Regions from separate parts of the Homo sapiens genome. Here region 1 is linked to region 2. Evidence: promoter capture Hi-C in human tissues and cell types (Jung and others, 2019). All regions are on one chromosome and are shown on one strand. The core of a region is centred on a gene start or on the middle of the fragment in contact, and the rest is flanking DNA. Distances in the headings are between cores, read along the strand shown. Region 1 has its middle 74 kb from the start of HSPA9. Region 2 holds the start of IGIP (IgA inducing protein).

Region 1 (3,694 bases), core at 399-2,898, 1.5 Mb after region 2:
GAAGAAGCGGGGTAGAGAGTGGGAAGTGCTGGCGGCTGCGGGGGCAATAAACAATGAGGCCTGCAGGATGAGCAGCCCCTGGAAGCTGCCAGAGTTGCTCACATCCCATCTTCCTGCTCTCCCCCAGTCAGTCAGGCTGGCCCTGCCACTGGGCTCTGTGTGTGTGGGGGTGGGGGCAGGCGGTGGTGCTGGGGCTGGGGAGAAGGGAGAAGTGTCAGCCCTGGCCTCTGGGGCCACATACAGGGAGGTGAGCTATGGGGAGCATCACGGAAGCGTGATTTAGAGTCTCATTCCCACTGCCCTTCACCGTGCTGCAAGGACAGTTCAACGTAATATATAATTACCGCCGCCCCACAAGGCTGCACTGTACACAGAGCTCCCACCTTCCTCCCGCTCCCTCCTGCCTGCCTTCAGACTATAAATCAGTTTTCAATCCTGAATGCTACCTGTAAATGTTCGAGCTCAGGATCCTCGCCTCATATTCCTATGTCCCTGGGGGGTGGTTCAGGATGTGAGTGGCTTCCCCCAGTCCTGATTCTGACATCCCAGCCCCTGATTGATGGTGAGAGGAGCAGCAGGGAAGCTGGAAATGGCTCTAGGGTCTCTGGAGCCCTGGCCTGGGGAGAGGGGTGGGCAGCTCTGGATCTGCCTGACTCAGCCAAGCCTGAACTGGATGCTCCCCAGTGTACAGAACTGTGGACATGCTCCGGACCAATTGGTGGGAAGGCATTGAAACTGACCCCTCCCCGAAAATGGCAACTTCTTTCCAGCCTTGTCAGATGTGCCAGAGCAGGCAGGTGGGCACGTTCACTGGAGTGTCCAAAAGACGGCAGCCTCGCCATAGGCTGATCTGGGGATGAAGAGGCACAGCCATGCCTTTCCCCTGAGCTGGGATGGGAAATCCCATGATGCACCTTTGAGGTGATAAAAGGACAAATCAAGAAAGAAATTCTTGGCCAGGCATTGTGGCTCATGCCTGTAATCCCAGCACTTTGGGAGACCGAGGCAGGCGGATCACCTGGTGAAACCCTGTCTCTACTAAAAATACAAAAATTATCGAGGCATGGTGCCATATGCCTGTAATCCCAGCTACTTGGGAGGCTGAGGCAGGAGAATCTCCTAAAACCCAGAGGAGGAGGTTGCAGTGAGCCGAGATTGTGCCACTGCATTCCAGCCTGAGTGACAGATCAAAACTCTGTCTCAAAAAAAAAAAAAAAAACCACACACACACACACACACACACAGAAAGAAAGAAATTTTTCTTTCTTCCTTTTTTTTTTTTTCTTTTTTAGGAGACAGAGTTGCCCCGGCTGGAGTGCAGTCGTGCGAAGCTGGCTCCCTGAAGCCTCAACTGCAGGTGTGTTATGTGTCCACCATTTACTGATCACCCCATCTGAAGACGGTCCCCCGGCCCTGACCTATTACTTTCTATCTTAGCGCCCTGTTTGTTATGGTACTAGGTATAATTCATATTATTCCATATTGTCTTGTGTCTTCATTTTTTGTGGGTTTTCACTCCTGGAGTGGAAGCTCTGTGAAGGCAGGGGCCACATTGCCTGGTCAACACTGTATTCCAGTTACTTAGCATCAAGCTTCACACATCATGGTGTTAGTTAAATACTCTTTGAATGAACTGAATGCATGGAGCCGGGGTGGGGTGGCTGCCAAAGAGAAGGTCTTCAAAGCTGAGGCTGACTCTGCCTGCTCCCCTGTGGCAGCCCCATCTGCAGACAGCAGCTGGGCAGATTCCTCCTTCCCTAGGAGACCAGGCTTATGACCCCGGGGGAATTGAGAGGCCTCTCCAGACCTTGGCCTCCTTCCTCTCCCTTGGGAAAACTCCAGTTGTGACCCCTCCTAGCTGTCCCCGGAGCTGCCTTCTGAGGACCAGGGGTTAATGGTCAGTGTTTATCACCTCCCACTCCCTGACAAGATCCCCAGGTCACTGGAAAGCTTGGCCCAGCCCAAACTGATACCTTGCATGGGCCAGGGACTCAATCTGGGGACAGCAAAGAGGGACTGAGGAGGAAGCTCCTCCACGCATTATAATATCCATGAAGTGAATGCAAATGAACTGAAAGCACCTTTTGAATAAGCAGCTTTTACTGAGGGAGCTGCTCTAATCCCTAAATGGCTTTGCTGACAGGGAGGAGCTTCCCAGTGGTGGAAGGGGTGGGAAATGGGGACACACTGTCAGGAACCGGCTCTGCAGCGCCCTTGTCCCTGCACTTTTAGATTCCGGACACGCTTCTTGTGGCTAATGGAACTCGGAGATCTCTAACCTTGGCCTCCATATTCCACTCCCTGCCCCCGCCCCCAGAGTCTGCGGAGCCCAGCTTCTGTGTTTCCAGGAGGCTGAGGCTGCTGGGTGCTGGGTCTCAGTGTCGAGTGATTCTCTGGGACTGGAAGCAGCTGAGTGTGCCTCCAGTGATGTAGCCCTGTGGGCTCTCTGGTGACCATGTGAGACATCCCTGGGCCTGTGTGTAAAGGTGTGTGGCCGTGTGCACCAGTGGGTTTGTGTCCATTTACACACCTCCTGGAAACAAGTGTCATTGTGTTTGTGCCTCTGTCTGTCCCCACCCCCACATCTCCATCCATCTGTATTCCTCCCCAGGTTAGCGGGGGCTGGCCTCAGCTGGGGAATCATGCTTTTTCAAGGACTAATGACTTTTATCAGAATGATAATGAACTGATGACACAGGGAGGCCCTGGGCTCTGGAGAGAAGCCAGAGAAGGAGCAGTTGGGGACAGAGAGGAGGCTGGTAGGGTTGGGAGGCTAGAGGACTATGCCTCCCAGAAAGGCCAGCCAGCTCCATTCCTCTTTCAGTGGGGGAAGGAGACAGGGACAGAGGAAACCCAGGGGATGTTGGAAACACATTCTCCATTTCCCTTCCCTGTCCCGCCTGCCTCTTCCTGAACCTTCCATTCCCTGCTTTGCTATTCTTCTCGCCCTCCCAGAGGACTCCCCTTGACTACGGGGCTGTGAGGCTAAAGCTGGCTATTCCCCTCTCCCAGTCTCCTTCACTCTAGCCCTTACTCAAAGCCAGGTCCTGCCCAGAGATGGAGAGGGGAGCTGCTCCTAGAATTCTGAGTGGGCAGAGACACATAGGTGGCCTGAGCAGGTCTTAGAGGACCAGAAACTTGAAAGCTGCCCCTTGGGCATGAAGCTTGTCAAGGCTAATTGGCCTCAATATTCTTTCATAATGAGTGTAGGGCCAGGTGAGTTGTCAGTGGGGAAAGGAGAGGAGAATTCAGAAGCTCACAGAACATCCACACCAGGGACTTGGGAGATCACAAAACCAGGAACTGTTCTCATTGGTCAGAGAAGATAAGTGATACCAATCTCCCAAAGGTTTCGGAGAGATTTCAGGCAGAGTCTGCAGCATGCAGGGGCTCCCTCACTGGAAAAGCTCCTTCACCTGCTGCAGAGAGGCAGCCACGTCTCCCCAAGCCGGAGCACTCTGGCCTCTAGCACAGCCTGGCATGCAGTGAATACTCAATAAACATCAGCTGTTGTGGATATTAGCATAATCTTCTGGTGGAAAGTCTCTGAGGGTGGTCCCTGCAGAGAGGGGTAAGCTTCTAGGACCCTGGGATTCACAAGGAACGGGGACAGTGCAAGGCAGGCATGGTACCAAGAGACCCAGCTTAAAGACCAAGGAGGCAGGCATGCCGGCCCCCACTGTGGCCTCTCCTT
Region 2 (3,584 bases), core at 601-3,100:
GATTTCACATAGATTAACATTTGTTGGTTAATAAAATATCGACAGTATTACAATCTTACAATATTTACAGTAAGAAAAATCTAGAGTAATATATACCTTTCACAGCAGGATTCCTTTTTTTAAAATTTCTTCCAGTTTGGGATTGTGTATACACAAAAAGCTCAAAATAAAGCAACTCTGCAATATAATCTTAAAATAATGGCTACTGGGGGAAATTCTATCACAACCATTGAAAATAATGGTGACTTCTCACGGAGTCTGTGGCATCTGAGAACCCAGTTAATTAACCAAAGTCTTGCTCATATTAGCCTCAGTTACCCAGATTAAAGCAGAACTCCGGCCTTCCCTGACTGCTGAAAACCCAACAGATTTTCTCAACATGCTATAAGGAAAGAGGAAAAATTGGTTTCAGCTCACACCTCATGGCTGGAAGCCTCTGGAAGCCTCCAGCCAGTGCACACTCCCCAACTTATGCTAAAAGAGGGCCAATTTCATCCCCACAGCATCACAAGAGTCCACCCTCCAACCACACAGTGCTCTGACACCAAGCTCACCCATTCCTCAACTCTTGTGCCTTAGGATAACACATGAACTTAGCCCACATAATACACACCAGCGTCTTAGAGACTTGAGACCAGGGCAAAGAAACAGACTAGTGTAGTTTGCACTGAGATCAGTAAGAAAAATGGGAAGTGATGCACATTTCCAATTAGAATGACAAGAAGAAGACCCACATCCCTAAACTGGAATTTGGCCAGGGCATCAGAGTTAGCACCCCCTCTCTGAGTACCGCTAGCGATTAGGATGTGTGCTCTGGGCCTCCTCTAAAAGAGAGCATCTACAGTAAGTAACACAGTATGGGACATTAGTTCAGTGACGACTGCCAAGAAAGCAGATACAATTCTTGAATCTGGGGCTGTCTACGGCACCTGAGGTCAATCATCCAAGCTGTGACCTGTCCCAACCCTGCTTACTTTAAGATATCTGATGGGCACAGAGCACTCAGGGATATGGCTGCTGGCTACTTTGGACTCTAGATCTCACAGGTAATCAACAGGTATCTGGGATTGAATTAGCAAACTGTACCATAGCTCCTTAAACAGACATTGTCAAGTCTGAAATCATGTCAAGCATGAATCTTCACTGTCAGGTCAGTAATCAAAGTGGGAGTCTTCCCACATCAGCCAAGGTTATTTTGTCAGAACCTTAGAGGAGTTGGACAGTTTTTCATGTTGCAAGTGATTGGTTTACTTATTTCAGTCAAGCTGGATTGGCAAACCAGACTGATTTATTTAGTGAGCTTTGTTTTTTTGATTCTTATGTGTGTGCTAACCCAAAGCTGTTGTATTTGGGCTAAATACACTGACAGAGAAAATTCAAACGACAAAAGTTTTCAGCAAACTTCTGTGGCATTTTTTCTTTTTGGAAGTAAATGCAAGATCTAAAGGTATTTCTACCCAACAACGTCTGTTTAAGTGTTTAATGTTATTTCCTTTTTGGTCCTATACAGAATGCTATGACTTCTATATAGGTCTGAATGCTGCTCCATGTAGATTCCTTCTGTATATCTAAAAATATATACTTTTCAGTAGTTCAATACATGGTTAATCTTCCCACAGAGGAAGATTTTTGTAATCACATGTTGCAAAGTAGAAAACATCTCCTTTCTAAGAAAGGAAATATACTTTCCTATTGTACACTTTTGAATAAGCCCAAAGGCATGCACCAAAAATCATTAATAAAACTAATACATGCAATAAAATGGTGTAGAGTTAGACTTAAAGTGCTGCTTCTCAATTTTTTTTAATTTGAAGAAGACATTTTGTCAGTTGTAGACTCAAAAATCTTTCCCCCACCCACCCTCCCCACCCCATGGCATTAAGAGAGAAAAGTAAAAAGTATGCATAAATCTTTTAACTATGCTTTACATGGGGGAAAGAACAGATGTATCAACTATCCTATATATCAACTGGATTCCCAGTTTTAAATAAAACCAATATTTACTGGTAAAAATTGTCAAAGCGAATACACGCAAACAAATGTTACTAGTAAATAAATGTTCTACATAGAGAATAATTTACTTTGGTTTTATGCGCCTTCTCAAAAATAACACTAGTGTCCCAACGTCACCAAACTGATGTGTTCCAGCAAAGTTGTAAGGCAAATCTTTTTTTCCCTAGTGACATCTTGTTTCCCAACAGACAAAACTAAAATCTTTTGGTGAGGAAGGGGTTAAGATAATGGCTAACCCCTTGGCATCCTGAGCATTGTGGTTTATCAAACTCTACCCTGCTAGAAATTGTCAGGCACCCTGACCCCTGCCTTGAACCAGGAAGGCTCCCATGTCTAGAGATGCCCTGACTCCTTATAAATAGCTTTCAGAACTTTGCTTTTTTCCCTTCTCTCTGGTTGTTATAATGTCTAACGAAGCTGGTTGCAATGTCACATTTTGCTAGTAGGGGCCACCATCTAACAATAATTCCAATATGAAAGGTTTTAAGCCAATAGTTGGTTCCTAATTTTATCAACGATTTGCACTAAAATTCTCTACAATTTACTTAGAGCAGAGATCTTTAACTTGGGTTTCAGAAGATGTGTGATGCCCCTGAAGTTGTATGCAAAATTATCCAGGGATGGGCATTTTTTTTTTCTTGGGTAGAGGATCCATCACACTGTCATCAGATTATCAAAGATATCTGTGACCCCCAAAAAGGGTTATAGGGACTTAGAGGGATACCCGTAATTCATTTTATACCAGGACTGGGAAATGGGGGCAGAAAACTAAAAATGGCCTCGAAAAAGGCCAGGGACAAATTGCTGATCTTTTCCCTTTATTCACATTGGGAAAATAAGTGCTTCAAACTGGAAAAATCATTAATTAAGCTGGTTAAACTCCATTAAAAAATAATCAAATCGCTTTCTAAATTTTTTTCATTTTCGATATGTGGTAAATTTTGTCTCCAAGAAAAGGTTTGGAGACTGAATTTTTCTCTTTTCCTAAAGGAAATTCATAGATAGAATGCTGAATATCATCCACATTTAAAGATTTGACAACATAAAAGTTAGATAACTCTTAATGATGTGAATCTTTAACTTATGATTTTGAGTAAAGGATTATCTAGAATCAAATATACACTTATTAATCTTCATTTCCCAAAATTGGTCCATATTTAGACAACTACCTGGCACAATTTCACTAGATAAACCTAAAATCTGAACAATGGAAGTTAAACTTCTACCCAAAGTAAAAACAAAGCCATAAGATTCCACAATTGAATTGGCCACAAACATTCACACTATGTTATAAAGGACTTTCTCATTTCAAATACATCACTGAATGTTCAACAGAATTTGCAAACATAAGATCCAGAATGACTAGCAAAACATGCTAAGAGCATGTCAAAAAGTAAAACACCACCTCTCCCCCCCCAATCTGGAAACACACTCAGGCATTCCAAAAATAAACCAGATCTGAAAAGAGGCCTCTCACTTGGTTTTAAGTATGAGGTGTGTACAAAGCTATGGGAAAGGGAATATAAAATGAAATAACCAAATAACTTACAAAAAATAATTTTAGCCAAAAA

Evidence for each region. The method cuts DNA at HindIII sites, captures the fragments that hold promoters and counts their contacts. A contact is called where the count stands out against the background at its distance.
Region 1: a contact is called between a fragment that was not itself captured here and the fragment with the promoter of IGIP in region 2, in 1 of the 25 tissues and cell types used here (spleen).

The regions. Positions count from the first base shown.
Region 1 is chr5:138,648,011-138,651,704 of GRCh38, reverse strand. No RefSeq gene overlaps it. Among named protein-coding and RNA genes, the nearest start is that of HSPA9, 74 kb to the right of the region's middle. RefSeq lists an enhancer at 415-1,213. The HindIII fragment of the contact is 3,444 bases long and covers 1-3,370 here.
Region 2 is chr5:140,124,203-140,127,786 of GRCh38, reverse strand. It overlaps IGIP (IgA inducing protein), which reads right to left and starts at 1,850. Exons shown (of 1, transcript NM_001007189.2): 1 at 1-1,850. It overlaps PURA (purine rich element binding protein A), which reads right to left. Exons shown (of 1, transcript NM_005859.5): 1 at 2,168-3,584. The HindIII fragment of the contact is 10,247 bases long and covers 1-3,584 here.